Regions from separate parts of the Homo sapiens genome. Here all the other regions are linked to region 1. The links are contacts of gene promoters, found by promoter capture Hi-C in blood cells and fetal thymus (Javierre and others, 2016). All regions are on one chromosome and are shown on one strand. The core of a region is centred on a gene start or on the middle of the fragment in contact, and the rest is flanking DNA. Distances in the headings are between cores, read along the strand shown. Region 1 holds the start of UBE3C (ubiquitin protein ligase E3C). Region 2 has its middle 9.7 kb from the start of TRR-CCT4-1. Region 3 has its middle 43 kb from the start of KDM7A-DT.

The links. The method cuts DNA at HindIII sites, captures the fragments that hold promoters and counts their contacts. A CHiCAGO score of 5 or more calls a contact.
Region 2: a contact is called between a fragment that was not itself captured here and the fragment with the promoter of UBE3C in region 1, in 1 of 17 cell types (neutrophils). The highest score is 5.2, in neutrophils.
Region 3: a contact is called between a fragment that was not itself captured here and the fragment with the promoter of UBE3C in region 1, in 1 of 17 cell types (naive CD8 T cells). The highest score is 5.8, in naive CD8 T cells.

What each region holds. Positions count from the first base shown.
Region 1 is chr7:157,137,676-157,140,481 of GRCh38, reverse strand. It overlaps UBE3C (ubiquitin protein ligase E3C), which reads right to left and starts at 1,556. Exons shown (of 23, transcript NM_014671.3): 1 at 1,144-1,556. The coding sequence starts at 1,209. RefSeq lists silencers at 925-994, 1,045-1,434, 1,715-2,064. The HindIII fragment of the contact is 7,086 bases long and covers 1-2,806 here.
Region 2 is chr7:139,329,599-139,332,404 of GRCh38, reverse strand. It overlaps a transcript of UBN2 not described here. Among named protein-coding and RNA genes, the nearest start is that of TRR-CCT4-1, 9.7 kb to the left of the region's middle. The HindIII fragment of the contact is 3,297 bases long and covers 1-2,806 here.
Region 3 is chr7:140,218,636-140,221,441 of GRCh38, reverse strand. No RefSeq gene overlaps it. Among named protein-coding and RNA genes, the nearest start is that of KDM7A-DT, 43 kb to the right of the region's middle. The HindIII fragment of the contact is 254 bases long and covers 1,217-1,470 here.

The sequences.
Region 1 (2,806 bases), core at 307-2,806:
CTTAACTGCACAGTACTTAGTTCTGGAGCACAAGTGACTTCCAAGCAATCACCATCACACGAACCTCAAAGCTGAAAAATTATCAGCACACTTCTCTCCCAACTCTTTACCCAGGTTCCCTTCTAACCTCAGAAACCACCAAACACAGCCCCACAGCACAATCTTAATAACAGCAGTTCCTCCTTGGCCTGCCAGCACCCACTCTGCGTTATGTGCCTACCTGGTGGTTGTGATATACAGAATATACTGATAGACAAGAAAAACTAGGTGAAGCATTTTAAAGAACATTTCAGAAATGATGGGAAGGGGTGGGAAGGGAGGGGCGGGAACAAGACCACACAGTGTTCAACGACTTAGCGGTTCCAGTGAACCAACTGATGCCCGTCTTCAGGGACAGACAGCTAGAAATTCTAGACTAGAACAGAGGCGTCATGGTTTGCCTACCCTTATCCTAAACAATTACCATGCGAACAACTTAATGTCGATCACAACAGATGTAAGTCCGGAGTCTCTCCACAGTTTCCAGGAGGCTGGTGGCAAATAATTGCCCTCGTCTTGGATTCAAACACGTGGCTATTCATGAGACGTTCTGCCTCTACTTTAGAGATTATCGACATCAGCAAATGCGTGCCGTTCACCTTCTACAACCGAAAACGCCCTTCAGGTGGCATTCGAAAAGCAGCCACTCCCTGATGCCATGCGGGAGCGAGCATGGAAAGCGCATTTCTGAAAGGAAACACCCAGAAAGGGTAAGTTCACCTTGGGTGGCACAAAGCGTGCCAGGGTTCACCGGCCTCCTGCATGGAAGGGAGCCACGGCCAGCGCGCCCGGGTCCCGAAGCGCAGTGGACAGGCAAGGCCCCCACGGGCGCGGCCTCGAGTTCCAGCCAGGGAGGCCCCGAGTCCAGTCCTAAGCCCCAGCCAGAGTCCTGGCCCCAAGTCTCGGCTCCGAGTCCAACCCCGAGTCCCGGCCGGAGCGGCCCCGAGATCCGGCGAGGAAGCCCCGAGTCCCCGCCAGGGAGGCCCCGAATCCAGCCCCAAGTCTCGGCCCCGAGTCCAGCCCCGAGTCCAGCCCCGAGTCCCAGCCCCGAGCCCCGGCCGCGCAGGCCCCGAGCCGAGGGCGCCCCGCCAGCCCGGCCCTCACCTTCCTGCTCGCGCCGCCAAGGGACACCTTGGGCCGCGTCTTGAAGTCGCCTTCGAAGCTGAACATCCTGGCAGCCTAGCCCATGTGCGGGCAGCGCCGCCGCGGAAGCAGCCGGGCGGGCGGGGCACGGGGCGGGCTGGGAGGCTCTCGGCGCCCGCCCGCCCGGCCCGGGGCAGCGAGGACGCGGCGGCCGGGAGGCGACCCGAGCCCGCCCCCGGGCTGTACCCTCCCAGCCCTGCCCTGGGGCGGGAGGGGCGGCAATACTGGAGGGGCGGCCCTGCCTCGCCTGCCCCTCATCCACGCCGGCCACAGCTCGGGCCGCTGCAGGGGCGCCCAGCGGGCAGCAAACCCGGCGCTTGCACCTGGAACTGCCGCCTCGGGAGGGAAGATGGCGGTCAGCCGTCAGTGCGTGCGCGGCCCTGCAGACGTGCGCGGCCCTGCAGACGTGCGCGGCCCTGCAGACGTGCGCGGCCCTGCAGACGTGCGCGGCCCTGCAGACGTGCGCGGCCCTGCAGACGTGCGCGGCCCTGCAGACGTGCGCGCCTCCGCCATTGACGGCACGGCGCTCTTCCCGGCGGTTCCGCTAGCGTGCGCGGCCCCGCAAGGCGCGCTGGAGCCTGGGGAGGACGGCGGTGACGCGGGCTGGGCACGCGGCGGAGTGGGCGGGGCCTGGTGCGTGCTGGGGGAGCGCGGCGAGGGGCGCGGGAGGTGTTGGGTGCGGGGCAGGGTGCGGGAAAGGTGGAGTGCGAGGCACGGGCCGGGATGGGGTGCAGGGCAGGGTGCGGGGTGCAGGGTGGGGTGCAGGGGCCGGCACCCGGAGCGGGCTGGGAGCGGCCAATCTGGTGCCAGACTCGAGTGAGGCGGGAAAGGAGCAGCTAGGCCCAGCCCGTCTGTTTACATCCCACCTGTTCTATGTCTATGACACGCACAGACGGACGTAAATATTTACCATGTACACAGACATGCGCAGATTTGCCTCATACATAGCACACATATGCATCTATAGATACAGCATCAATACATATAAATATGTATCATGTACACATACCTGTGTATGCAAAAATATTTGCTCCTGGACTTACCATGGGGCTTTGTCCTGATAAACCCATCGTAAGATGAAAATATTGTAAGTTGAAAATGTATTTAATGCTACAATAAACCCATCACAAAGTCAAAAAATTGTAAGTTGAGCCATTTTAAGTTGGGGACCACCTATACATAAACATGTGTCTTATATCCACACATACGTATACATAATATCTCATATACATGTGCATATACATATATATCATACACGATTGAAACCAATTTCTAAAAATTGATTTTTGGTTGTATACAAGGTGTGCAACATGATGATTTCATAGAGACATTGTGAAATGACTACCCTCTTTGTGTGTGTGTGGTAAGAGTACATAAAATCTACTCTCTTAGCAAAATTTCAACACACAATACGATATCATCTACAGTCGTCCTGCGGCCGAGCACGGTCGCTCACGCCGGTAATCCCAGCACTCTGGGAGGCCAAGGCGGGCGGATCACCTGAAGTGAAAAGTTCGAGACCAGCCTGGCCAACATGGTGAAACCCCATCTCTAATAAAATACAAAACTTAGGCCGGTGTGGTGGTGCACGCCTGTAGTCCAAGCTACTCTGGAGGCTAAGGCA
Region 2 (2,806 bases), core at 121-2,620, about 18 Mb after region 1:
GCATGCCACTGCACCCAGCTAAATTTTATATTTTTTGGTAGAGAAGGTATTTCGCCATGTTGGCCAGTGAGGTCTCAAACTCCTAACCTCAAGTGATTCACCCACCTTGGCCTCCCAAAGTGCTGGGTTTACAGTCATGAGCCACCGTGTCCGGCAGATCCACTTTTTATTTATTTATTTATTTATTTATTTATTTATTTATTTATTTATTTATTTATTTTGAGACGGAGTCTCACTCTGTTGCCCAGGCTAGACTGCAGTGGTGCGATCTCGGCTCACTGCAAGCTCTGCCTCCCGGGTTCACGCCGTTCTCCTGCCTCAGCCTCCCGAGTAGCTGGGACTACAGGTGCCCGCCACCACACCCGGCTAATTTTTTTGTATTTTTTGTAGAGACGGGGTTTCACCGTGTTAGCCAGGATGGTCTCGATCTCCTGACCTCGTGATCTGCCCGCCTGGGTCTCCCAAAAAGTGCTGGGATTACAGGCGTGAGCCACCGTGCCCGGCCAATTTCTGTATTTTTAGTAGAGATGGGGTTTCACCGTGTTAGCCAGGATGGTCTCGATCTCCTGAACTCATGATCCTCCCGCCTCGGCCTCCCAAAGTGCTGGGTTTACAGGCGTGAGCCACCGTGCCCGGCCAATTTCTGTATTTTTAGTAGAGATGGGGTTTCACCGTGTTAGCCAGGATGGTCTCGATCTCCTGACCTCATGATCTTCCCGCCTCGGCCTCCCAAAGTGCTGGGTTTACAGGCGTGAGCCACCGTGCCCGGCCCAGATCCACTTTTCAACACAGTAGCTCACTGACAAAAAATCCTCTCATCCTCTCTCCACAACCCTCCTAATTGCCTGCCCTGGTTTCAGTAGAGGGGAAATACTTTCTCTTCCTGAAAGCCATGCCTCTGTTGGGAGAGGAGAGAGGTTATGATTGAGTCAATCTGCAATGGCCAATGATCGAATCAGTCAGGGCTACATATGACGGTGTATGAAACTGCCACTAAAATTTCTCCACAACAGGGTTTTGGGAGCTTCTGGGTTGGTAATGCATTGAGGTGCTAGGAGGATGGTATACCCAGAGAGGGCATGGAAGCTCCACTTTTCCCGTTCCCATACTTTGCTCTATTTATTTCTTCCATTCAGCTGTTCCTAAGTTGTATCCTTTATAATAACCTGACGATAGTAAGTAATGCACTTTCCTGGGTCCTGTGAGTCATTCTAGCAAATTATCAAATCTGGGAGGATTGTGGGAACCCCTGAATTTATAGTTATGTCAGACAGAAGTGTGGGTAACCTGGGGACCCAATACTGGAGACTGGCCCAGGTCGTGTAAGTGAAGGCAGTCTTGTGGGACTGAATGCTTAAAGCTGTGAGTCTTATAGTAACTCTGGGTAGTTACTGTCAAAATGGAATTGAATGGTAGGATTCTCGGTTGGTGTCTGGAGAGTTGGAGAATAGGTTGGTGTCAGGAAGGGAAAAAAACAACTACCCTCATTTGGTGTTGAAGAGGTGTGAGAAAAAACCCAACAGTGGTATTGTAAAAGGGTGCAACCACTATGGAAAACTGTATGGCAGTTCTTCAAAAAATTAAAAATAGAACTACCATAAGATTCAACAGCCCCACCTCTGGGTATATATCCAAAAGAATTCAAAGTAGAAACTCAAACAGATATTTGTACACCCACATTCATGGCGGCATTATTCACAAGAGCCAAGAGGTGGAAACAACCCACGTGTCCATCAGTGGATGAATGGATAAATAAAATGTGGTCTATTCATATCATGCAATATTATTCAGCCTTACAGAGGAAGGAAATCCTGTCACATGACAAACAACATGGACTAACCTTGAAGACATTACACTAAGTGACATAAGCCAGTCACAGAAGGACAAATACTACATGATTTCACTTATATGAAGTATCTACAGTTGTCAGAGTCATAGATAAAGAAAGTTGAATGGTGGTTACCAGGAGCTGGAAGTAAGAGGCAAAAAGGAGTTATTTAATGAGTACACAGTTTCAGTTCTACAAGATCTGGAGATCTAGTTCACAACAATGAAAACATACTTAACACTTAAAACAGTTATGATAAATGTTATGAATTTCTCATACACTTAAAAATTGAAAAATTTCTCTGTCACTTAAAAAAACTGATTTTGTTTGGTTTTTGGCCTCTATAGATACCCCAAACTTGCATTAATTGAGGTCATCTAAGGTGATGTACATTTGAAGCAAATAGTTCTTTTTCCAAGTAAAGTAATTGAGGGGGCACCCTATAATATGACAGGTGTTGTAAGGGCTTCACTACAAGAAAACTCTTTTCTGGGGATTTTCTTAGGGGGAGATGGGAACTTCAGGCTCATATGGTACCTTGCCCAGAGTGCACAGCTTGTGGGCCTTGTGGAGCCAGCATGAGAACGCAGGACTATCTGACCCCAAAGCTAGAGTTCTTAGTCATTGCACCTTGGTACCTTTGCAGCCATGGCCACAGCTATTTGTTGAATTAATTGAACAGGAGTTGGGAGAATGCTTTTCTGCTTTTCTTTTCCAGTTATGTTAGTGGCCCCAGTCCTCTGATCACATTCTCAGTTTGTTGGTGCTAAATCCTGGTCTGGGGGCAGCCAACTAGCCTAGAGCAGAGTTGGATTCCAAAGAAGGGTTTGGCCCTCATTTTGAATACCTGTACAAGCAGAAACATACTGGGACAAGACGTTCCAAGGCATCCTGGAGCTCCTACATCCATCACCCACGTAAGAATGCTCTCACGCCAGTTCCTATGGGTTTGGAGCTATGATAACTAAAAACTCCTAT
Region 3 (2,806 bases), core at 94-2,593, about 17 Mb after region 1:
AATCACAACTTAAGCAAGATATATAAAATTGTTTCTCATGTACATAGTTGAGGTCTATTATGTCAGCGTCCCCATTATTCAGACTCTTTCCAGTTTTCTGACTGCATTCCCTAGGCTGTGTCTCATCCTTATGGTCCAAATTGACTGCTGGAGCTCCAGCCATCACATCTGACTTCTAGGCAGCAGGACAGAGGAAAAGGAGAAGAAAGGCCTATGTTCTTCCTAGAAGAACCATACTATATTTTTGCTTACATCTCTTTGGCTAGAATTTAAAATGGCCAGTCCAAATTGAAGAGAGGCTGGGAAATTTAGTCCTTTGGCAGCAAGCAGTGTTACTCAGAATAAATTTGGGGTTTGTTACTAAGTGGGAGAAGGCGCATTGGTATTGGGTTAGGTTAAGCAGCCAGCAGTCTATCAGAGAAAGCTGGATTTAGTAGCTGTGAAATAAACAGGTTATTGGGGTTTGCAGTTCACTTAGGCTCTCTTTGTAACCCTGGGCAGGTCATTTTACTTTCTTCAGCTTCAAAATTTTCATTAAAAAAAAAAAAAAAAAAAAGGCCAGTCTTGGTGGCTCATGCCTGTAATCCCAGCACTTTGGGAGGCTGAGGCGGGCAGATCACCTGAGGTCGGGAGTTCGAGACCAGCCTGACCAACATGGAGAAACCCCATCTCTACTAAAAATACAAAATTAGCTGGTGTGGTGGCGCATGCCTGTAATCCCAGCTACTCGGGAGGCTGAGGCAGGAGAATCGCTTGAATCCAGGAGGCAGAGGTTGCAGTGAGCCGAGATCGTGTCATTGCACTCTAGCCTGGACAACAAGAGTAAAACTCCGTCTTAAAAAAAAAAAAAGCCTGTGATTAATAGCTGTGGCTGTTAAACTGTGTTCAAATAAGTCCTGGGGTTTCTTGGAGGCACCTCAAGTTTAATGGGAATAACTGGAGCTGAAATAAGAGTCCAAGCAAGGGCTTCCATGTCCCCTTCCCACCCCTTCAACCAGACCAGCTCTCTTCTCTCTGCTTTTTTACGTTACCCCAGCTCTCAGTAGCTCTAAAGCTCCATGACAGGTGAGAAACATCAGGAGCAACTGTAGAAAGTTTCTGGGTTTCGAGAGAAGCAAGTTGGACAGGTTATGTAGGTTCAGGTTTCTGTGGTTCCGGAGGTAGAGGACCATGTTTCTGTAATTGTGAAAATCTAGGGAGGTATCAGGGAAAAGCTTGGTCATCTTTCTCTAATTCCGGAGGTACTGGAACATAATTTTCTTGTCTCTGGGGGCCTTAGAATATATTCCCTGAGGTCTGGAATGAAAAGAAAATGAATGCTGAAATACGATCCAGGTTTGGTTCCCTGTTCTGCCTTTTCCTGCTTGGTATGTAATTTCTCTGAGCCTTAGTGTACTCATCTTTACAATGGGAATAGTAATGCCTACGCAGGACTACTGGGAAAATGAAATATTATCAAGTATGTAAGCTTAGTAGGCTATGAGTCAACGTTCATTTGCTTTAATGTCACCTGTTCATCAGAGGGCCTTACACCCCCAGGTGGGGTGGGTACAGTAGAGAGGCCTGGGCTTAATGATTCAGCCAATTGGTTCCTGACGCTCAAGATGAAATTGATGGCATTGGGACTCTGGAGTATCACCCTGAGCAGGTGTGCGGGCTGATCCCGTCTCATGGGGGTGTGGTGTTGTGGTGTTCTTTTCAATCTAGAGTGTTTAAGAACCAACCAAATCCTGCATCTGGGCTTTGGTTGGGAAGGTATAGTCTCTCTTAAATCTTTCCTCTTTTCCTCTTTAATGTTTTGTTTTGTTTTGTTTTCTCATCATCAATTAAATACTTTGAAGTCTTTTCCATTTTGAAACAAAAGAAAACCCTTTCCCTCTAGGCAGATGACTCTTCCTGCCTATGTCTTTTTTTTTTTTTTTTTTTTTTTTTGAGACAATGTCTCGCTCTGTCATCAGGGTGGAGGGCAGTGGCGTGATCTCAGCTCACTGCAACTTCCGCCTCCTGGGTTCAAGCAATTCTCCTGCCTCAGCCTCCCGAGTAGCTGGGACTACAGGCACATGCCACCACGCCCAGCTAATTTTTGTATTTTTAGTAGAGATGGAGTTTCACCATGTTGGCCAGGATGGTGTCGCTCTCTTGACCTCATGATCTGCCAGCCTCGGCCTCCCAAAGCGCGGGATTACAGGCGTGAGCCACCGCGCTCGGCCCTGATTTTTGTATTTTTAGTAGAGATGGGGTTTCACCACGTTTCCCAGGCTGGTCTCAAACTCCTGAGCTCAGGCAGTCTGCCCACCTCAGCTTCCCAAAGTGCTGAGATTACAGGCATGAGCCACCGCGCCTGGCCGGATGTATGTCTTTCCATTTTCTCTCTAAATTCTTGGTCTAATCCCTATTTCTGAATCACCTGTGGGCTGCCCAAGCTCTGTAATTTACATCAGCCTCAGATGTAAACATGCCCCCTTGTCTTCACACCCGAGGACACCACTCACCTACCCCATGCCACTGGGTGAGAGAGTCTGTTATTAAAGTCTCTGGAAAATTCCAAAGAATTATAGAAGAGAAAGCAAAGGAAACAAGACACCACCCGCATGCTTCTGAGGCCGTGGCCAGCTAGCCCCAGGGAGCCTCATACCAGCAGCTCCTCTTCCTGGCCACCATCTCCTGCTCAAGCCGCCTTGCTTCCTACATGAAATTTCCTACAATTATCTTAGCTTCTTTTAATCCCAAGGCCCACCCCAGAGTCCTATCTCTGAGGTCACCAGGGGCCCATGAAAGTAACTCTTTCTCTCTATGCTGGACCCTT